6 separate regions of the Homo sapiens genome follow, and all the other regions are linked to region 3. The links are contacts of gene promoters, found by promoter capture Hi-C in blood cells and fetal thymus (Javierre and others, 2016). All regions are on one chromosome and are shown on one strand. Each heading gives the region's core, a stretch centred on a gene start or on the middle of the fragment in contact. The rest is flanking DNA. Distances are from core to core; before and after follow the strand shown. Region 1 overlaps PEBP4 (phosphatidylethanolamine binding protein 4). Region 2 has its middle 13 kb from the start of PEBP4. Region 3 holds the start of PDLIM2 (PDZ and LIM domain 2). Region 4 overlaps RHOBTB2 (Rho related BTB domain containing 2). Region 5 overlaps PEBP4 (phosphatidylethanolamine binding protein 4). Region 6 overlaps POLR3D (RNA polymerase III subunit D).

Region 1 (3,600 bases), core at 571-3,070, 310 kb after region 3:
CAAAATTAGCCCTAGAAAAACGCTGCTCTTGTCCTATTTACCAAAGTTTAAAAGCAAGTTTGAGAAGGATCAGACTGCTTTCAGTGAGCCTAACCACATGCCAGATCATAGCTCAAGAATATTTATGAGATTATAATGACATTTCACACCTAATGAAGTAAAAATCCACAAGTCTGGCACCTAAAAAAATTACTAGACATGTAAAGAAGCAGGAAAATAGAAACCATAACAAGGACAAAAAACAATCAATTGAAATAGACTGGGAAATGATACAGACAATGGAATTAGTACACAAATATATTAAAACAGTTATTATAACTATATTCCATGTGTTCAAGAAGGTAGGGGAAGGCTTATATATTCCCAGAGACATAGAAAATATTTTTAAAGACCCAATTCAGATTTGAAGAGATAACAATTTCATTGTCTGTGATGAAGAGTACACTGGATGAGATTTAACAGAAGGTTAACTATACAGAATAAGATATTAGTGAACTTGAAGACACAGCAATAGAAACTATTCAAAATAAAACACAGAGAGAAAAAAGACTGAAAAAAACCCACCAGAATAGCATATCAGTGAGCTGTGGGACATCTTCAAGTAGCCAAATATACATGCAATAGGAGTCCCTAAAATTCCCTTTTAGGGAATATTAGAAAAAATATTAGAAGACATAATGGCTGAAAAATGTCTTAATTTGATGAAAACTGTAAACCCACAGATCCCAGAAGCCCAACCAAAGAAATGCCAAGCACAAGACACATGAGAAAACTACACCAAACACATCACAATCAAATTGCTTAAAACCAGTGAAGATGAGAGCACAGGTTACCATTAGCAAATGTGTCACTGGCAGCCCGCGGCATATAGTAGCAAAATAATCTTGATTATCAAGTGTGATTACCTAGAACAAAGTACCCATTGAAGATAAGAGTTTGGCGGAATTGCACGATAGATTATTATGTCAGAATGATGAATATAAAGATGTTGGAATAAGATGACTTCTTCTGCCAGAAGTGGGAAAAGTAAAGAAAAATGGTTAGAAGCTTGAGGTTTAAATTCTTGGCACAGCCATGCATAGTGGCTCACTCTATAATCCCAGCACTTTGGGAAGCCAAGGCAGATGGATGGCTTCAGCCCAGGAGTTCGAGACCAGCCCAGGCAACATGGTAAGACCCTGTCTCTACAAAAAATAAAAAATAAATAAAAAAAATTCCAAGCATAGTGGCATGTGCCTGTAGTCCCAGCTACTCAGGAGGCTGAGGTGGGAAGATTGCTTGATTCCAGGAGGTCAAGGCTGCAGTGAACCGTAATCATGCCACTGCACTCCAGCTTGGGCAACAGAGTGAGACCCTGTCTCTAAAAATAAAATAAAATAGTAATAAATTCTTGGCTCAAGGCTCAATCAGAAGAGCAAGGAACAGTTAAGACTATCCTGAAAGAATCTCCCACGGTTTGTAGTTTCAGGGCCAACAAAACTGAAATCAGAAGTGAAGTCTGACCCAGCAGGTTGTAGAATTACAACCTAAGTTAAGTTCACAGCCTCATCAGGTCTCTTATGGGAGATGGTGTTGACTGGGAAAGATGGAACCCTGTGAATGGGGATGCTGAATTCATATAACTGAGTCTTAGACCCTGCTGAGCCTCCCTTTCCAGCAGAAGCTGCCCCTTTTCCCCAGGTCCTGTCTTGCAAGAGAATCCTGATTCTCCCTGAGGTCGACACTTACCACCCCTGGCTGCTCCTGACCTATTCTAGAATCAGATTTCAGCATGGCCAAGGGAGACAAGCACAAAGTCTGATTCTGAAACAGTAGACTTTCACACCAAAGTAGGTGCCATTTGTTTTTTAATATTTATTGGCAGAAATCTGAGAAATGTATAGTAAGGTGCTGATCACGGAGGAAAGAAGATCATTTTCAATTGGGCCATATTGATCAATATGGATTCTGGATCCAAAGTACTGGCTGGATCATCTGGGTATGGTTCTGTTCACTCAGTGGGTTATCTGAAATGAAACCTGAACTGAATGGCATCCTATACTAAATAAAGCTAAGGTGACAGAAGTTCCTTGATATAAAGCAAGGAATCTTAATACCTGGAGAGGCATAATAATGTTGGGGTGGGCTTACACATGTGTTCCCCACATACCCTCCTTCACTCTGTCCCAGGAGAACATACTTTCTTCACAAGCATTTAGACATGCTTTGGTGAGGGGGACACCGGCATTCTGTTTTCCTTGGTTGTCTTCAGAATTTATCTTTGGTTTTTAGCAGTTTGATCATGACACATCTAGGTGGATTTTTTTAAAAATTCTGATTAAGGTTCTCTGAGTATCTTGGACTTGTGGTATGTTGCCTTTCTTTAACAAGTTCTTGGTCATTATCTCTTCAAATAGTTCTACTCTGCTCTCTTTTCTTAATGAGATCCCAACTATACATATGTTAGACCATTTTATGTTGTCTCACAATGCTTGGGTGCTCTGTTCTGTCCCCCAGCCTTCTTTTCTCTCTTTATATTTCTTTAGATCATTTCTGTTGCTCTATCTTCAAGTTCACTGATTTTTCCAGTTTATATGTTACGTCTAATTTGCTGAGAAGCTTAAGTTCCTGTTTCAGTAACCTGACTAGTTTTCCAAGTTTGTCGGAAGTTCTGCTTTTTTGGCCACATCCTTGAACCCAGCCTAGGTGGCATTGGCCCTGCTTCCCATGGGCAGGTTTCTTCATGCCAGCCTCTCTGCCTGTGCTCCCAGTTACTGCCTACCTACTGCCCCCTCTGCCCTGGGGCAGATTTGCTGTGTGGCATCAGACAGTTGCCTGAAAGTTGCTGGTATTGTGGTTGGAGAGATGAAACCATGTTCCCAAATCCCACATCCTTGCATCAAGTAAGAAAAGTGCCACTGGAACCTAGAATGATGTGGGAACCCAGAAGAAGAAGATGTCCTAGTCTGGGAGGAGAGACAGGGAATGGAGCTTGGACAATCACTGTCATAGCTGGAGTGTGATCTGATGAAGATCTGAACTAGAGAAATACATAGGCCACGGTAATACTAATTAATCAGGAATGGTTGAGTTTTGCTCCCGCTGACCTATCAATTCTTACTCCAATGGCTCCTTTAACCGATAGTTGCAGTGTTCAGTGGGGTATTATCCAGGCTCCAACGTGTTTGCTCAGAGCCATCCTCAGGCTAAGGGGAGTCTTCCCTGATCTCCCCTCCTCATCCCAGTGATGGGGTTCCTTCCACCTCACCTGCTAGGGGTTTCTTGAGGCTCACTCAGGCGCACTCCTACTCTCACTTTCCTGACATTTTGTGTTTCTGATTCAGCATTTTCTGGCTCTGGGTATCTGGAGAACCACGTTACCTATTTCATTTCTCATTTACCCCAGCAGTCCTTGGCCTCTTTATTACTGTTCAAGCTAAGGCTCAGCAGTGACACAGACTCTCCCATGCCTCGTTCAGCCCTTGGTAGAAACAGCATTACACAGAGGTTGCAAGGTGACAACTTATGATAAGGCAGAATTTTGAAGGTGTCAGGTGCCTCAACTATGTCATGACCTGTTATATGACGCCTTAAAATCCACAGTTAGTGTCTCTTCCCTTT
Region 2 (3,678 bases), core at 859-3,358, 360 kb after region 3:
GCTCCTCCCACCTCCCATTCATTGATTTCTGCCTTCTGCTCTAGTTTTCTGTGCACGTACTTCATTCTGTGAGGGCCCCATTTGTCTCTGCATTCCCCACAGCACTATGAACATAGCAGATGCTTAATAAATCGTTACATAAATAAGCACGCACATATAAAAACCGTATGCTGTAAAGGAACTATTCTGACCTTTGGTTGTCCTACTTAGAGACAGAGAAAGAATTCCAAAGTCACCCAACATGCACTTGGGCCATCTTTTGTTATCAACTCTTTGTTGCTTTTTATGTACCTTTCATTTCAGATGACCAATTTGAAAATTGTCTTGAAATGTAAAAGTATAAAAATATAATTTCTTTTGTTTTTTTCTCAGGGAGTGGGGCTTACTTCTAAATGAACAATAAGAATTACATCAAACTTCCCATCAGAAACCAGGCAAGCAACAAGAGAATGGAGTGAAATATTTTAAAAAGTGTTAAAACTTCCATCAACCTAGAATCTGTATCCAGGGGAATTTTTCTTCAAAGGTGGAGAGGATATGAAGACAAAGAAAAACTGAGAGAAGATTTTGCCCTTACACCTGCCTTGCATGAAATGTTAAAAGAAGCCCTTCAATGAAAAGGAAAATGAAATCTTGGCTCTACATAAAGGAAGAACAATGAAGATGGACTAAATGGAAGTAAAGGAAAATATTTTACCTTTATTATTCTTAATTGGCCTTATAGATAACTGTTTGTTTAAAATAGTTAAGAACAAGAATGTCTCAAGTGATTATGGCTTATTGTTAAGTTCATGAATGCTAGCAATGTCTAAGAAATGGGAGGAAGGAATGAGGAATGCTCTGTTACAGGGTATCTGCACTTGCTGTTGTTTTAAGAGATGTTCGCTTTCCTTCTACCAAGCAGAAGGCAGAGGAATTCATGGTGGCAATGATGGGGCTGGCAAAGAGAGCTCCAGGGCTGGATTTTCCCAACAATTTTATTACCCAGGAGTCAGGAGAGTGTCTGTGAGATAAACCCAGCTCTGACCCCTTCCCTCACCCCTCCATTTATCCAAAGGTCCTGCTAGACCTCGGGCCAGAGGCTGGGGGCCAGGACCTTCCCACTCCAGGGACACAAATTCTTCTTTTAGGTAGCCCCAGCTTGTTGGTCTCAGCAATCAACAGTTGACTTAATAAGCCCATTTCATTAACAGATGCACATTGCATCTATTAATGAATCACTTCACCCATGGAATGGCAGGCTCCAGAGGGGCTATGAAATGGTGGTGCCTCAGGCAATCACCTGCCGTCATGTCACCCTTGAAAGGTTGAATGTTTTGTCCATCTGGTGGAGGTGAGAATTGAACTTAAAGCCTAGTGAAGCTATGTATTTACCTTGCCCCTCTTTGCAGGGACAGAGTCAATCTCTGGTTCCCCCTATATTTCTCAGGATGGGAGGAAATGGGGATCCTTCTTCCTATATCATGGAAGGGAGAATGAGGACCTCACAAAGGAAAGAAACTCACTACATCTGTCAGAAGTAAGGCCTGCCTGAAATCAGTGAGGCTCATCGCAGCCCAAAATTCAGGCAGTGAGAAATTCACCAAAGTGGCCTTTCTGAGGAGAATTAGAGAAATGTTTGAGGCTCATAGATAGGCACCTAGAAACGCCATGAAGAAAGTCACAAATAATGCCTCAAATGATGTGCTCAAATCACGCTAGAGTGAAAAAATTGGAAACACCACCTTTACCATGAATTTCTCTTTTTTTTTTTTTTTCGAGACGGAGTCTTGCTCTGTCACCCAGGCTGGAGTGCAGCAGCACAATCATGGCTCACAGCAAGCTCCACCTCCCGGGTTCATGCCATTCTCCTGCATCAGCCTCCCGAGCAGCTGGGACTACAGGTGACCACCACCACGCCTGGTTAATTTTTTTGTATTTTCAGTAGAGACGGGGTTTCACCATGTTAGCCAGGATGGTCTTGATCTCCTGACCTCGTGATCTGCCTGCCTTGGCCTCCCAAAGTGCTGGGATTATAGGCGTGAGCCACCACGGCCAGCCTTTACCACGAATTTCTAATAGCTCCCTAGGCCAAGGTGTTTTTTCTCTCCTCTGTCTCCTCTCTCGTAGCAAATTCCTACCGCACACAAACAGGGAAGAAGAGCCCTTGTCACTTGTCCAGAACAGTGTGGGAGCTGTTGGGTGCTGGCTGTGGGAAGGTACACACCTTGACAGGTTTCTGGCCTGGAGAACGAGGGGAGAAAGTTCCCTCCAGGGTGCCCCTCAGTTTGGGCCCTTAAGGTAATCAGAGCCAGCGGATGTTGAGAGTTTGAGAGGTTCAGTAAGGTTCCTAGAGCCACAGGACAGGAGGGAGCTGTTGGTGGTTGGGGAGACAGTTGGAGAAAGTTCCAGGGGAGTTCCAGGGAGGAGCCGATATGTAGGGCAGGAGAGAATAGGAAAAAAAAGAATGGGTGGGTTTGCCAGCATTCCTCCTTCCAAGGATTCTAAGGAAAAGAGTGGAAACTGCGGAGACAATTCTCTTACCGTTTCTCCTTTCAAGATGCACAGAGAGTCAGGCAGAAGGGACACTAGAGTGCAGGAAAAGAAGGCCGCAGAGACAGGTGCAGAAGGTTGGAGGGAGGAACCACTGAGACCAGCGTCCGTGGAAAGATGTCCAACGTTTGACCACGGAGAGCAACAGGCCCTCAGCCACAGACAGGAGAGATCGGGATTGACAACTATCTTCAGAGCTCCCAGTCTGCGGGCATTGATTGACTGATTAAGGCGGAGTTTCACTCCTGTTGTCCAGGCTGGAGTGCAATGGCTCGATCTGGGCTCACTGCAAGCTGTGCCTCCCGGGTTCAAGCGATTCTCATGCCTCAGCCTCCTGAGAAGCTGGTATTACAGGCACCCACCACCATGCCCAGCTAATTTTTTTTGTAGTTTTAGTAGAGGCGGGGTTTCACCACATTGGCCAGTCTGGTCTCAAACCCCTGACCTCAGGTGATCCACTGGCCCTGGCCTCCCAAAGTGCTGTGATTATAGGTGTGAGCCACCCACCGCACCTGGCCATCACGGGGATTTAGAATCATCCCCTTCCCCAACAAGTGTGGCCTGGAGCCTGCAGAATAATGGAGACCACCACCACCTGGCTCAGACCCAGGTCTTCCAGGCTGGCTCACACTTGGGTAAGGTTCTGCCAATCAGGTAACTAAGCCCAGGGCAAGTACGTGGTTTTCAGGTCCTGGGTTTCCTGCTGTGTTTTAAATGACCACACCTGGAACCATCTCCTTACTTTCTTTCTAGAGAATTCCTCCCAGGAAAATCAACAAATCAATGAGAAGTCAAACACTTACCCAGTAGTTTTGCACAGTAGAGCACCTGAGGAATTCGTGAAAAACACCAATGCCTGGCCCCACCCCAGGTGAATTAGACCAGAATTTCGGAGGGTGAAGCCTAGACATGGAGGGTTTCAAATGCTTCCCAGGTGACTCGCATATGCAGCCAGGCTGGGGAGTCCTTGTATTCAATCTAGATAAATAGCAGGCATGCGGCAGGTGCTGAAGGTGCAAAGATGAACAAGGTGAGGATCCCGCTCTTGATAAACTCACAGCTTAGAAGGGAGATGAGCATCCAAACAAACAAACAGCCAGGTGTGGTGGCTCAAACCTGTAATCCCAACATAATGGGAGGCTGAGG
Region 3 (3,759 bases), core at 1-2,500:
GTGAGCGCGCCCACCTGCGCCTCTCCGCGCGGCCCGCCCTCCCCGGCGCCGGGCTCCTCTCCGCGCCCCTGTCGGCGCGGAACCCTGGCCTCGTCCGCGGCCCAGCTCCCTGGAGCCTCGCATCAGCGGGGGCGCCCCCGCGAGCTGCGCTCTCCCCGGCCGGAGCGCTCCTCCTCCAGCCCCCAGCCCGCAGGGTACTTTGCCCTCGGAGCGAAGGAGGCTCCAGAACTGGTAGAGCCGGGCCATCGGGCTGGGCACCTCCCCGCGGCGCCCGCAGCGCGGAGTCCACTGACCGGCTCAAAGGTCTGGGAATCTCGGGGCGGCCGCGAGCCGGCCTCGGGGACTGGGGTGGGGGCGGTGCTGGGAACAGAGGCTAGGCCTGGGCCCAAGGGGAAGGCAGCCGGGGATGGAGCGGACAGACCGCTGGTGCTCTTGATAGATTCTCGCAGCACTTGCGTCCCCAGGGCAGCCCCAGGATGGGTGCTGGGCAGGGTGGTGCCCAGCCTGGCACCGCGGCTTCCTGCCTGGATTGGCTCCTGGCTCCAGAGCTAGAGGCTCAGGAAATCCCACAGGGGTCTGTCTGCAAGGGCACTTCCTTGCCCAGCGGAGGGGCTGTGGATGGGAGGCCTGTCACCCCGGCTGTCTGTCGGGCAGCATCAGGAATCTGGGGGTGGGTGTGTCCAGCTTGACAGATGAACCCTGGCCTCCTTGCCCTGGCAGCCGGCCCCTGGGGGAGGTGGGGAGCCCGGTCTTGCCCGTGTGATCCACTTTGCCAAGAACGAGGTGGGCAGCTAGGAGGCCCATGTGAAGACTCGGCCTCACCCCACCAGTCCTTCACCTGGCCAGTGACTTACACAGTCTGTACTGGTGCCAGCCTGTTCCTTGACCCGTCACTCCTGCTTCCTGAGCCCTGCTCTCCCTAGGCCACTCACCAGCCCTCCCCCAGAGTGGAGAGGAAGTACCGTGTGCTGTGGGTTTTGGGGACAGGAAGCAAGCGCTAGTGGGACTGAGCCCTGATGGTGGAGGAGGGGAGACTGAGGGGGTGCTGGCATCCCCTCCACTTGCCAGCCCCTGCCCCCCATGCTCCAGCAAGCCCCCTGCCTGGCAGCCTGGGCAGCCCCCTCCTGGGAGTCGCTCCCTGGGCTGAAGACTAAGGAAGGGAGAACCCAGAAGCATGGCTTCCCAGGGTGGGGGGAAGTGAAACCGGGCTGAGGGAGGGAGTTAGCCACTTCCTCTACCCACCCCAAAGCCCCTGAGTAGCTGCTCCGGGAGCTGTGGTGCCCTCTCCTTCTCCCTTTGGCTCCTCTCCTGCTGCCTTACAGTGCCCCCAGAGCCGGCTAGGGGCATGGACTTCACCTCCTGGTCCTCTCTTCCTCAGGTATGGCGTTGACGGTGGATGTGGCCGGGCCAGCGCCCTGGGGCTTCCGTATCACAGGGGGCAGGGATTTCCACACGCCCATCATGGTGACTAAGGTAAGGATGGTGGCTCAAAGAGATGAGAAGGTCCTGCCAGAAGCGAGGTCGGCCCTGTTCACCCCACTCTGCACAGATGGCTTGCTTTTTCTGTTCTGGAGCTAGGGATCTGCTGCTGCCTGGCGTGCTGGCTGTAAGGGAGCCGTGGCCCTTTGCCACGGGGATGTGGTGGCCACTTCAGGAACAGACCTTGGGAGTGAAAGGGAGCTGGGACCAGGACAGGGCCGGCTCTTGCCTCCCCAGTTGCTATCCCCACACTTGCAGGCAGCCATTTGGGGTGATTACTAGAACAAGAGCCCCGGAGTTCTTGGCAGTCTCCTCTTGACCTGGGCCCAGGCTGGGAACATTCACAGGAGGGCTGTGCAGGCAGCCACCTGCAAGGTGCGATTTGCACGGGCAAGGCTCTCTATCCAAAAGTATTTCCAAGCACAGTTCCTGAAATTCTGCCACTGCACATTCTTTGGGAGGCCCATTAGAATGCCAGTGTGGGGTGGGGGCTGCCACCTGCGCTCCTGGAGGGGATGGCTGATCAGCTGGGTGTCATGAGCAGGCAGAGGGACATGCAGGAGGGTGCAGGCCGGCCTGGGTCAAGCCAGCCTCTGTGTTTCTTGGGTAGCAGAGTGGGAAGTCCCTTCTCCAGCTGGGCCACGGTCTGAGCATGCCAGCTCCTCATCCCTACAGGTGGCCGAGCGGGGCAAAGCCAAGGACGCTGACCTCCGGCCTGGAGACATAATCGTGGCCATCAACGGGGAAAGCGCGGAGGGCATGCTGCATGCCGAGGCCCAGAGCAAGATCCGCCAGAGCCCCTCGCCCCTGCGGCTGCAGCTGGACCGGTAGGGCCTCCCGCTCTGCAGAGCCTGTGGCATTCCCCCTCCTCCACCACCCCACGTATTGAGCAGCCCTTGCTCCTGCCCATGGGCTAGAGCTCAGCCCTAAAGCGGCCTTCTTGGGCCCTCTCCACACCTTGGTGAGAAGGTCCTGGGCTCTGCTTCCTGCAGCAGGGTGGGCTGAGGGGTGTTCCCATGCCTGGTTGGGTAAAGGTGGGCGCCAGGCTGGGCGTGCAGTCACAGGCTGGGCAGGGCGAGCTGGCACCAGCCACCTTGAAGCCCGGGTTTGACTGGTTCCCAAGAGTGTGCAGGGCACAGGGCGTGGGCATGAAGTGGGTTGAAGAGGGGAACCTTCTGGGAAAGGTATGCCCGAGGCTGCATCCCCAGGACTCCTGCTTCCAACAGGGCATGGCCTTTGTTTAGTTCCCAGCTGGAAGTGAGGACTTGGGGGGCTCATTCCTCATAGAGGCTGTCTGTTCCTCCCCATCACTGAAGGCAGATGCCCGATCCTGGGTTACTCCTAGGGTTTTGAGCCTATAAGCCAAGGTGGGGCCAGGGTGGGGCCTGGAGGCCAAGCTATAGGGGGAACAGGTGGCTCCCTGGGGTGGGGCATTGCAGTGAGTCACAGATCGGGAATGCCAGGAGATCCCCGAGCCAGGAGAGCCCTCTGCACGGGCCTAGAACCTGAGTCAGACACCTCTTGCATCCTGGCCACCCCCACATTGTCCTGCTCTCTTCAGCCCTACCAAGCCCCTCCTTCTCCAACTGCCCTGCCCTGTGGTGTGGCAGAAGCCGGCTCCCTTCATGTCATTCAGGTCCCTGGGTGTTTGCAGGAGCGGGACCCCAAGAAGGAGGGTAGAGAGCACCTCATGGCATCTGGGAATGGGGCAGAAAGCTACAGGAGGCTGAGGGTCTGGCAGCGGAAGGGCAGGAGCCTCGGACTGTCTCTTCCTCTGGGGTTCTCTGGAGGGACCAGGGCTCGGGGGAGGTAGGCCTGGGCTGTAAGTCAGGCCTCTGGTTCTGCACCAGGCAAGCCCAGACTCCAGTCTCTTAATTTTTTTTTTTTTTTTTTTTTTGAGACAGAGTCTCGCTCTGTTGCCAGGCTGGAGTGCAGTAGCGTGATCTCGGCTCACTGCCACCTCTGCCTCCCGGGTTCAAGAGAGTCTCCTGACTCAGCCTCCTGAGTACCTGGGACTACAGGCGCGTGCCACCACGCCCAGCTAATTTTTGTATTTTTAGTAGAGATGGGGTTTCACCACGTTGGCCAGGATGGTCTCGATCTCCTGACCTCGTGATCCACTTGCCTCAGCCTCCCAAAGTGCTGGGATTACAGGTATTACACCGCGCCCGGCCCAGTCTCCTTACTTTTGCTGACGTGATGCCCACCCCCCCCCCCGCCCCCATCTCCCGCCTCCTACCCTCCCAGGTGACCTCTCTGGTATTCAGAAGCCCTGGGGCA
Region 4 (2,700 bases), core at 1-2,500, 430 kb after region 3:
TTGGAAAGCAAGGGGGTTCTGCATTGGTGCTATTAGCATTGCCTGTCTGTCTCAGCTCCTGGTGTCCTGGAGCTGCGGCTGCCATGCTCTTGAAGCCTGGTTTTCCCCAGCTGGGAGCGGGTTTGTTCCGTGCCCCGAATCTTCTGGGTTCAGGAGGAGGCTCCGTGGCTCCCCTTGGGGCTTGTTCTCCCAGCTTCTTTCACCAGTCCTCCTGTGATGCTTCTTCTGGACAGATGTGACCTTCATCCTGGATGATGGCACCATCAGCGCCCACAAGCCCCTGTTGATTTCCAGCTGTGACTGGATGGCTGCCATGTTTGGGGGGCCATTTGTGGAGAGCTCCACCCGGGAGGTAAGGCTGAGGACACAAAGGGGGGAAGGAGGGAGTGAGACATTTGCACCCTTTACATCTGAGGCACTGCCACTCAGGGTACTTTCTTCACTGACTGTGTGCTAACCACAGGGTGATGGGCCCAAGAGAGGTTTATGAGGTGGTTCTTGGAGCTAAGGATTATACAATACACCAGGAAAGGGAATTACACTGACACCTCAACTTGAGAGTTTAGAAAGCACTTTCTGTTCATTATCTCATTAAATTCACACGCAACGTACACATGTGCCACTCCTGCCGTATATCTAGGAAAGGGAGCCCCTGAGAAGTTAAGTGACTTGTATGAAGTTGGAAGTAGAGTTAGGACTTGAACTCAGGACTTCCATTCCTTGGCTCTTTACTTTGTACCTTACTGCCTCCCTGACACACTTGAAACAACTGAATGCATCACTGTTTTAAAAGATAGGTTTTATTATTATTGAGGTGTAGAGAGGCCCACAGATTGCAAGATGGCTGTCATTGATAAGACAACTTGTTACAGATCCCAAGAAAAGGGGGCATGCCACAGCACCATGGCTGGGGTCACATGGGGAAGCTCTGGGGTCAATCAGGAGGCAGAGGGTTTCTGTGGGAGGGAATGGGCGAGGCAGGTTGAGCAGGTTTAGGATTAGCTGTTTGAATAATGTTAGCCGGCTCTGGGGCCTGGATGCTGTCTCTAGTTGTCTGTCACCTGGCTCTAGGGGGATTAGGGCAGGGGAACAGTGGCCTGGAGTGTGAGGGCCCATAGGGGAGGTAGTGGGCTGTGGGCTCTGGATTGGTTGGTTTGCATATGAAAGGCACACTTGCAGGCAACTCCTTCACTATCCCTAGGACTTGGCCAGCCCTGAGGGAGGCAGTCCCTATAGGGCCAGCAAGGCTTTAGTTGTCAAAGCAACAAAATACAGAAAATAGGTGTAGGGGGTGGCTTACACCTGTAATCCCAGCACTTTGAGGGGCTGAGGTGGGAGGATTGCCTGAGCCCAGGAGTTTGAGACCTGCCTGGGAAACACAGACACCATCTCTACAGAAAAAAAGAAAAAAAGAGAGAGAGAGAGAAAAGAAGGAAGGGAGGGAGGGAGGGAGGAAGGGAAGGAAAAGCATACTTAATAGAACCACCTGCCTCTCTAATCAGTGACCCTCTAGCTCTCACGATGCCACCACTTTCTCACTCACCTAGATTGGAAACTTAGGGTTGGAAGAAGCCTATCAATGTGTCCTTAGAAATATTCTCTTAGGTTTGGTCTCTTTTCCATTCCAAGCAGAGTAGCCTGGGCAGTAGCCCTTGGTGTGCTCTGAACTCCTGGACCTCAATTGCCCATCACTGAGTGTCGTCGAACCTTGTAGTTAACGAGGTTCGACTTTGTGCAGGCGCGTGGAGTTCTGAACGTCCACACCGTTTCCCCTACTGTTCTGTAACTGCTTCTGAGCGCAGGGACTGGGTCTTTTTCCTTCTGCCAAAAACCCTCTCAGCGCCAGTCTCTTGGGAAATGCTCACCAAATGCTTGAATGAAAAACAGAACCAAGCACGAGGCTGGGCTGCATCGCATCCCGTGATGTGGAATGTGCATTTTCTAAGATTTCTGGGAAGGAAGTACTTAAGGAAGGCTAAGTGGAAGCGTTGGGAGTTGGTCTCTGAAGTGGGAGTAGGATTTGGATATACAAAATGTGAGACTAGGAGCTCTCACAAGCCCCAGGGGCCTGCCAGCCCCGGGCACTTCTCGGTACTGTAGACGCCAGCTTTAAACTTCTAGCCAGTTCCCAGCACAGCCTGGAGAGCCTGATGAGAAGGCAGTTTGTGTTGCAGCGCTGCTCTCAAGAGATCCTGGAGGCCCAAAGCAGCAGCTCTGAGCAGACAGAAAGAAATCAGCTGCTGTGGGCCTTACTTATTCTGTATCCCACTTCTGTTCTGTGCAGGGATGGGAGGGACTGAGGTGTAGATTGAGGTGACCAGAAGGCCTCCTTCAAGCATCCCGCGAGCAAGAGCGGCTTCCAAAGGGTGCCAGTGAGTAGTATCTGGGTCCCTTTGGAAGAGTTTAGAAGCTGGACGCCATGGCTTGTGCCTATAGTCCCAGCTACTGAGGAGGCTGAGGCAGGAGGAATGCTTAAGACCAGGAGTTCAAGACCATCCTGGATGGCATAACAAGACGCTGTTTCTAAAAATAAACACATAAATGATAGTAGAGGCCTGTACTCTGGTGCTGTCAGCAAACTGGGGCTCAGCACAGGTTGTCGCTCTAGGGGTCAGGTGTTCTCAGGGTCTTCTCAGCAGATACACATGCAGCACAGGGAAGGCTGCCCGTCTGGGGGAGCCTGGGTGTGAGGGCCAGAGC
Region 5 (3,962 bases), core at 285-2,784, 340 kb after region 3:
CTCTCTCACCTAGTCACCCAGTCAGCCAGCATGGCATCTGAGGTGCTGGTGGGGCCCACGGGTGACTCAAAGAAAGACAACACATAGTCTTTCTCTCCTAACTTACAAAGTGCTTGAAGCTTTGAGAGACAGGAATGAGCAACTACAGCACAAGACACAGGGAAGTCAAAACCCAGTTTAGAGGGTAGGAACATTTTAAAAGCACAGAGAAAGAAAAGATCAGCCAGGGATGTAGGTGGAGCCCAGAGGGAGGCAGTCAGGGAAGGCTTCCTAGAGGAGGAAGCATTGTGACGGGAGCAGGGTCCAAAGACGCCAAGGATGGGGAAGTGGCCAATGCCAGAATATGGAGGTGGGAAGCTCTATGGTGGGCACAGAGGCACTGCTGCACCCCTCTTTCCAGGGCTTTGGAGTTTGCTGGGGGCGGGGGAGGGGGGGGTGTTCCCAGGCATGTCCAATGGCAGTCACTGCTTTGGTGGCATTGCTTCAGTCACCTTGGAAGCAATGCACCATCCCCACATAGCAGTCACCAACTCGTGCCCTTCTCCATCAGGCCCAGAAGAAATACCTTCATGCTCTTCTCTGTCCTAAACACTCAGGCTCCCCGCACCCTTTTCTTGAGGGACCCAGGTAGCACTTGCTCCTCCAGCCTCACCAGTCATGCCCTCTCCCTTAAGGGAAGCTCCAACTACCACCTTCCCTAGGAAGAACTATCCTTCCTGCCCACCCCCTTCCATTCTAACCAGGGAAAGCTTCCCTTCGGCCAGCCCACCCCTGCCTGTGCCAGCGCCCCCTGGTGTCTCCCTTAGAGCCCTTGCCAGTGGCCCACTGGCCAGGCCCATGGGCTCTGGAGTTGGGCAGACCTGGCTTTGACTCTGGCTCTGGCACCTTTCAGCTCTGTACTTGGCCAGATTACTCACTTCCATAGGACCTGCCTTGCATTTCCTACCTAACATCCTTTCACCCTTATCTGATCAATCACACCTTGACTTGCATTCAGGGCAACCATCCTCCTCTACTCTCAGTCCTTGTAGATTAAGGGGAGCTGTAGAGGGTCACTGCTAGGTTCAGGGATAGGCACAAGACCAAAGCGAGACCAATCCTGTGACTTTTAATGGATGGAAAACCCTATTTCCACTGGGGTTGACAAATTGGTCAAACACAAACCTAAGGCTGTTGGGGCCATCTTTGTCACAAGGGAAGACTCTATTTACAAATGAAAACAGCACAGAAAAAAACAATCAAGAGACAGATTCCTGGTGACACTGAGCACCTGGATCCAGCCTCGCCTGAAGTTATCCCTGGAGTTTTCAGTTTTGTGAACCAATGTTTCCCCCTCTTTTCTGGCTTAAGCCGATTTGAGTTGACTTTTTGTCACATGCCATTAATAGTCTTGATGAAAGAAATACTTAACTTGGAGACTTAAATGAAAGGTCCGAGTAGTGCCCAGGAATGGAATAAGGTGGCACTCACTGACCACTTTGGCAAATCTCTCTGAATCTGCCTTCTCATAGGTCTGTTACATTTCCATAAACTATAGTTCCATAGTAGTAGAATACTATGTTTTTCTTCTTCCCACAGCTTCGATCAAATCTTCCTTTGTAAAATCTTCACTCTCCCAGGCTTTCTTGACCACAGCTCTGTGTTCCTCATAAATCTCTATGTTCCACATCCGTTTTCTCCCCACCCCACCCCCGGGCTGAGGCAGGATGGGTTTAACAGTACAAGACTTCAGGATGTGGCGTGGGTGATGTCGTCTTTGTGTAATGTGCTGATAAGCCAGGGCAACGAAACCAAATCAAACCAAAGACTTTCCCAACAGGCTTCAAATCCCTGCTCTGGAGGACACCAGGTGCTCAGAAAAGTCTACACTGCCATCTAGTGGATGTCTGCAGCATCATCAGCACGCGGAAGGGAGCCCTTTGGGGAGAATTCCCTTGGGACTGTCCCTGGCCTGTGAAAGCATCCGACTGACCCTCACTACATAAGGGACAAACCCCAAGACAAGTGAATGGATGGTGAAGCCGAGAGTCCTGTCCCGCAGAGTAGCATATACTCCTCTAAAAGATTGGGTTCCTGCCCGGCCTCTGCACCTCCCATCCCAGGAGTTAGAATCAGCAGGCTTCCTTTCTCTGCTCCTCTTGGCTGTCCACAGGTGTGCCCAGTCCAAGGGTTTCCAGGGAAGAGGGCTGACGCTGTGTGCACATGGGTGTGCATGCAAGTGTGTGTGTGCACATGTGCACACATGTGCACGTGTGCACTTTATTGCTCGTCTTCCCAAAGGAAAGGGTGTTTGTCGTGTTTGCAAACAAGACAACCTAGCAAAGCTTCATGACAACAGCCTCATAACTTGCGAGCCATATCACAATCTATTTGCTCTCTGATAGTGAAAAACACTTCAAAGAGAAGAGTCTATTCCCCGCATTGGAGTAACTTGTGTGCTGCCGCCCTCTGGAGCTTGTTGTCCTACTGGGCTTAGCTGACTGCATGAGGCCTAACCAAGGCAGCACTGAGGGGAAGGAAGAACCCCTTGTGGCCCTTCCCTGCCACCCTGCACAGAAAGGACCAGAAGGTCAGCCTTGGTGTGTGTGCTTGGTCACATCCCGGCCACGACCCTTCCATCTCCAGGCATTTGTGACCCAAGTCCTGCCTAGATTGACAGCAGCACCTCCTTCTAAAACACAGCAGAAAAGAGGCCAGTCTCCACCATTGACACTCTGCGGGCTCAGTCTGGCCCAGGAGTCAAGAAATAAAGAAGCGGAGACCAGAAGGCCAGATCAGCTTCCCCAAAACACACTCTGGCTGCTTAGGGCAGCAGCAGACCCATTTCCCACTTCTATGACTCTTCCCCAGGCTTTCCAGACCCCTAAATGTAATAGCACTAATCACTGCCCAGTAAAATAGTTATTTCCAGTTCCTAAAATGCTTTGTTCTTCTTTTACACAACTTTGGGCAAAAGAAGAGCGTGTCTCATGTTGTGACAACAAAGCGTCAAGATGCACTGACCTCTGCCTGTTTAGGCAACTTGGGAAGCTCTGTCTTGGTAAATACCAGCTTCTCTCCAGCCCAGAAGCCATCTGAAGGCCCAGGCACCCCGCGCCTTGAGAGAGGACTCCTCCCATACCACGCCTTCTTCCACTTATCTGCCAACTCCAAAGCACACACCAGCTGGTCTCCACCAGGCTTGGGGTCCCAGATCTCAGGGGCAGCCAAGGAGCTCCCAGAGCAGGGGAGCAGGAAAAGGCCTGGGCAGAATGGCCTCAACCATCACCAAAGTTTCCAGTCTGCAGCCCTCCCACCAGCCCCCAGCCTTCTCCTCAAGTCCACTCTAAGGAAGGCACAACTTTATGGCAACAGCCATCTGCAGCCACCAGACCCAACCCAGATGGCTCTGCACGCAGCTTCAAGTCACCCAGATGAGCAAGCCTGGAGGAACATCAAGACCCCCAACTGTCCCCCCGCTTTAACACAGCCCTGCTCACTCACGTCCACGGCCCCCGGGAACTTGACTATCGGCTCCATCCAGGAGGTGATCTTCTGTCTGTAGTTGTTACAATCAGGAACAACCTTGCAGCCAATGTTCCCCAACTCTGGGTAGAAAACTTCAAGGCCCCTATGAAGAGAGAGGGGAGGTTGCCCTGTGTCAGGGTTTTAAGGGAGCCTGGGGTTCCCAAGGCTTCAGTCTAGCACTATTGGGAATGTAAAGTGAAATGGGATCAAATCCTAAACCTGCCACTAACTAGTTGTGTGACCGAAGAGTTACTTGACCTCCTTGTGCCTCAGTTTCCTCACCTGTAAAACGAAGACACTAATAATTCCTCCCTCATGGAGTCAGTGTGAGAAGAAAAGTGGCGGTCAATGGTCAGAACAGAACCTGGCACGTTGTAAGTCATCAGAAAGTATAATATTAATTATCATCAGCCTTTACTTCCCTAGAAGAACAGATATCCTTAGGCAAACTTAGT
Region 6 (3,910 bases), core at 1-2,500, 320 kb before region 3:
TTCAAGACCAGCCTGGGCAACATGGTGAAACCTTGTCTCTGAAAAATAAATAATACACACCCACATGCACACACATCCAGTTCTTCCATGTTAATGAGTATGTTGTGTTTCACATACTTCTGAATTAGCCGAAGGAATTAAAGGTAGCATCTTTTAATCCTCAGACTGCCCTGCGTGGTCCGATTGAATTGGGCAGTCAGCACTAGGCTCTTCAAAGGGAAACAGGCTTCTTTCTTAGGACGGTGCACAGTGAAAGAGTGGCACACACGCTGTTCATCCAGTGCTCCAACCCCCAGTCCTGGTGTCAGATACTTCTACATTTGGGGCATTTCCCCTTGAGATGGCTGTGGCTAGCGACACATGATGTGAACACCTCTCTTGGATTGTGGTTCGGCCGCACAAGGCCCCATCAGAGTTCTACAGGTGGAGTGTGGGGCCCAGAAGGGGCTCAGGTCTTAGGGGTGTCATCTGAAAAAACAGAGATGGTGATGGGACACCAGTTCTAGGAGCCCTCTGCATGGCCACTTTCTGCCTCAGCTCTTCTAAAGCATTTCTTCTGTTCCCTTCCATTGGGGTAACCACTGATCTGTCTTCCCAAAAACTGAGTCAGAAGTTGGACTTTGTTACTTGGCTCATCTACATTTAAGATATAGTCAGAAAAAAAATGCAGTCTTTACATCTTAAGAAAGCTTACATGGGCCAGGCGCAGTGGCTCACACCTGTAATCCCAGCACTTTGGGAGGCCAAGGTGGGCGGATCACCTGAGGTCAGGAGTTCGAGACCAGCCTCAACATGGAGAAACCCCGTCTCTAGTAAAAATACAAAATTAGCTGGGCGTGGTGGTGCATGCCTGTAATCCCAGCTACTTGGGAGGCTGAGGCAGGAGAATTGCTTGAACCTGGGAGGCGGAGGTTGCGGTGAGCCAAGATCACGCCATTGCACTCCAGCCTGGGCAACAAGAGTGAAACTCCATCTCAGAAAAAAAAAAAAAAAAATAGAAAGCTTACATGAAAGAAAAAGAAAAATGCAGTCTTGATCACTGTTGGCCTGGAGACTTTATCTTGTGTGTTTTCCAGGGCGTGCATGAGGTTTCACTGGACAAGTAGAAACCATTCTAGGTATTCAGAAAGAGTTAATACAAGAAGAGAAGTTTATAGACTCGTTGGAAGGCTGGAGGAGTGAGCCATAGGTTAAGCATCCAGGAATCAGCACCCCCTAGAACAGATGGTGAGGGAGCTACACCCTCTGCCACAATCAGGAGGGTGGAGACTCAAGCTCGACTGAGTTCCGGAACACAACACACTGCCACAGCTGCCAGCCAGGGGTGAGGGAATCCCACAGCCCCAGCTGCCTCTGGGGAACCATACAGCTGTAGCTGGACCCTGGCACACCTGAAGAAAGTGCCTGCTGTGTGCTAGGCACCCTGCAGGAGTTAGGAAAGCAGTGGTTAGGGGCTGTGTCCTGCTGGAGGAGCCTGCACTCTAGTGAGGGAGACAGGATAAGCTTAAGGAAGGACGTTAAAAGGTGACAAGAGTTTGGGAACTTGCAGGGAGCAGGGGATTCTGGGTGGTGGCGGGCATGTTGCAGCAAGTAGGGTAGGTCTCCTTGAGAGGGTATCGTTTGAGGAAGTGAACCAGCGGGATCAGATGCAGGTGGGGAGAGTGCTCTGGGCTGAGTGAAGAGTAAGACAGAGACTGGCTGGAGCTGAGGGAGTGAGAGGGGTGGGACCTGGCCCTGGAGGGCTTTTAGGCCATGGTAGGGACCTTGGCTTTATTCTTTTTTTTTTTTTTTTTTTTTTTTTTAGACGGAGTCTCGCTATGTTGCCCAGGCTGGAGTGCAGTGGCGTGATCTTGGCTCACTGCAACCCCCACCTCCCAGGTTCAAGTGATTCTCGTGCCTCAGCCTCCTGAGTAGCTGGGATTACAGGCACCCGCTACCAAGCCCAGCTAATTTTTGTATTTTTAGTAGAGACAGGGTTTCACCAGGTTGGCCAGGCTGGTCTCAAATGCCTAACCTCAGGTGATCCACCCGCCTCGGCCTCCCAAAGTGTTCGAATTACAGGCGTGAGCCACCACACCCAGCCCGGCTTTATTCTTAAAGTGACCTGGTGAGCCAGCTGGTGTGGAGATGAGGCGGGAAGCAGGGCTGATGGAGTCCCTGGACAGTGGATGGCAGTGGCTTGGCCAGGCCGCTAACAGCAGGGGCACTGGGAAGTGATTGGATTCTAGATACTGATTTCAAGGGTAGCACACACGTGATCTGCTGATAGATTCCATGTCAGGTGTGAGAGGGAGGAGAGTCAAGCTCATCCACAGCTCTGGCAGCGGAAGACGGCCAAAGTGAAGAAGGTGGCCTCAAGTTTACCTCCACCTTCCAAACCTCAACTGGTAAAACCTCATGCATGCCCAGAATGCTAGCACAAGAGATTTAGGGAAATGTGGGTATTTTGCTTTCTGGCCCTGCAGTTCAGGTTCCACCTTATAAAATGGGAGTGGCGTGGGTGGTGGGCGCCACCAGCCATATTCACGGGAGTTAGCATAAGGGTTCACAGTTTGAGTGAAGCTTCCTGAGACTGTGCCGTGCTGCCAACACAGTTCTCTCCGATTCATTCCCTCAAAACAGTATATTCCCAATGAAAGCACGACCAGTACTTAAACTAGCCATGTTCAGTGTGGCTCTCAGACCTTTCCCCAGGGCAAGATGATCACAAGAATTCCTTTAGGAACGTCTCTTAAATTGTACAACTAAAGTTTAATGGTTATATTAGAATCCGTCTTCGTACTATGAAAATTCACCCAACTGATCTCCCATTTCTGGGATATTTAGATTTTTTCTAGTTTTTCATCGTTTAAAAAATGATGCAGCCTGGGGTGGTGGCTCATGTCTATAATCCTAGCAGTTTGGGAGGCCAAGGCTGGTGGATCACTTGAGCTCAGGAGTTTGAGACCAGCCTGGGCAACATGGTGAAACCCCATCTCTACCAAAAATATAAAACTTAGCCAGGCATGGTGGCTTGCTCCTGTACTCCCAGCTACTTGGGGGGCTGAAGTGGGAGGATTGCATGAGCCCAGAAGTGGGAGGTTGCAGTGAGCTGAGACGAGATCGCACCACTGCACTCTAGCCTGGGTGACAGTGAGAACTTGTCTCAAAAAATAAATAAATAAATAAAATCCATTAAATTGCCAGTGTCCTCAATTATTTCCTTAGGAGTCTCTATTTAAAATGGTTTTCCTGACCAGACTGGGCAATGTAGCAAGACCTGGTCTCTAGAAAAAAAAAATTTTTTTTAATTAACTGGGCGTGGTGATATGAGGTTATATAGCGCCAGCTACTCTGAAGGCTGACGTGCGAGGATCAGTTGAGCCCAGGAGTTTGTTAAGTCCAATCCTATGAGATTTTTAAGGATTTTGATAGATTTTTCCCTCCAGAATGTTTGCATCTATTCACATGTGCATCAGCAGTGCATTTGTAGTTAAATGTGTAGTTAACGTTCTGTTTTTAAAACTATACAAATGTTGGGCCAGGCGCCATGGTTCCTGCCTGTAATCCCAGCACTTGGGAGGCCAAGGTGGGTGGATCACTTGAGGCCAGGAGTTTGAGACCAGCCTGGCCAAAATGGTGAAACCCTATCACTACAAAAAATAAAAAATTAGCTGGGCCCATGGTGGCACGCGCCTGTAATCCCAGCTACTCAGGTAACTGAGGCCCAAGAATTGCCTGAACCAGAGAATTGCTTGAAGCCAGGAGGCGGAGGTTGCAGTGAGCTGAGATCACGCCACTACACTCCAGCCTGGGGGACAGCGTGAAACTGTGTCTCAAAAAAAATATATATATATATATACACACACACACACACACACACACACACGTACATGTGTGTGTGCATGTGTGCAAATGTTGGGCCAGGCAG

What was found. The method cuts DNA at HindIII sites, captures the fragments that hold promoters and counts their contacts. A CHiCAGO score of 5 or more calls a contact.
Region 1: a fragment that was not itself captured here is called in contact with the fragment with the promoter of PDLIM2 in region 3 in 4 of 17 cell types (M1 macrophages, M0 macrophages, erythroblasts and 1 more); the score reaches 6.7 in M1 macrophages.
Region 2: a contact is called between a fragment that was not itself captured here and the fragment with the promoter of PDLIM2 in region 3, in 1 of 17 cell types (M1 macrophages). The highest score is 6.3, in M1 macrophages.
Region 4: a fragment that was not itself captured here is called in contact with the fragment with the promoter of PDLIM2 in region 3 in 2 of 17 cell types (naive B cells and total B cells); the score reaches 7.2 in naive B cells.
Region 5: a contact is called between a fragment that was not itself captured here and the fragment with the promoter of PDLIM2 in region 3, in 15 of 17 cell types (endothelial precursors, activated CD4 T cells, megakaryocytes and 12 more). The highest score is 21.8, in endothelial precursors.
Region 6: a contact is called between a fragment that was not itself captured here and the fragment with the promoter of PDLIM2 in region 3, in 2 of 17 cell types (endothelial precursors and erythroblasts). The highest score is 6.4, in endothelial precursors.

Annotation. Positions count from the first base shown.
Region 1 is chr8:22,893,221-22,896,820 of GRCh38, forward strand. The region is part of intron 3 of PEBP4 (phosphatidylethanolamine binding protein 4); the gene reads right to left. LOC124901907 (a long non-coding RNA gene) reads right to left here. Exons shown (of 2, transcript XR_007060854.1): 2 at 1,831-3,460. Among named protein-coding and RNA genes, the nearest start is that of PEBP4-AS1, 17 kb to the left of the region's middle. The HindIII fragment of the contact is 1,551 bases long and covers 1,046-2,596 here.
Region 2 is chr8:22,938,749-22,942,426 of GRCh38, forward strand. It overlaps a transcript of PEBP4 not described here. Among named protein-coding and RNA genes, the nearest start is that of PEBP4, 13 kb to the left of the region's middle. The HindIII fragment of the contact is 7,835 bases long and covers 1-3,678 here.
Region 3 is chr8:22,579,225-22,582,983 of GRCh38, forward strand. It overlaps PDLIM2 (PDZ and LIM domain 2), which reads left to right and starts at 1,251. Exons shown (of 9, transcript NM_001368120.1): 1 at 1,251-1,473; 2 at 2,155-2,306. The coding sequence starts at 1,381. RefSeq lists silencers at 38-107, 208-297, 308-467, 1,198-1,287, 2,852-3,146 and an enhancer at 2,485-3,177. The HindIII fragment of the contact is 20,077 bases long and covers 1-3,759 here.
Region 4 is chr8:23,007,760-23,010,459 of GRCh38, forward strand. RHOBTB2 (Rho related BTB domain containing 2) reads left to right here. Exons shown (of 10, transcript NM_015178.3): 6 at 234-352. Among named protein-coding and RNA genes, the nearest start is that of RHOBTB2-AS1, 9.3 kb to the left of the region's middle. RefSeq lists an enhancer at 914-1,499. The HindIII fragment of the contact is 4,621 bases long and covers 1-2,700 here.
Region 5 is chr8:22,916,701-22,920,662 of GRCh38, forward strand. PEBP4 (phosphatidylethanolamine binding protein 4) reads right to left here. Exons shown (of 7, transcript NM_144962.3): 3 at 3,484-3,610. Among named protein-coding and RNA genes, the nearest start is that of PEBP4, 9.2 kb to the right of the region's middle. RefSeq lists an enhancer at 2,846-3,774. The HindIII fragment of the contact is 1,575 bases long and covers 748-2,322 here.
Region 6 is chr8:22,254,439-22,258,348 of GRCh38, forward strand. It overlaps POLR3D (RNA polymerase III subunit D), which reads left to right. Exons shown (of 9, transcript NM_001722.3): 9 at 1-163. It overlaps PIWIL2-DT (PIWIL2 divergent transcript), which reads right to left. Exons shown (of 2, transcript NR_134293.1): 2 at 138-468. Among named protein-coding and RNA genes, the nearest start is that of POLR3D, 11 kb to the left of the region's middle. The HindIII fragment of the contact is 501 bases long and covers 1,001-1,501 here.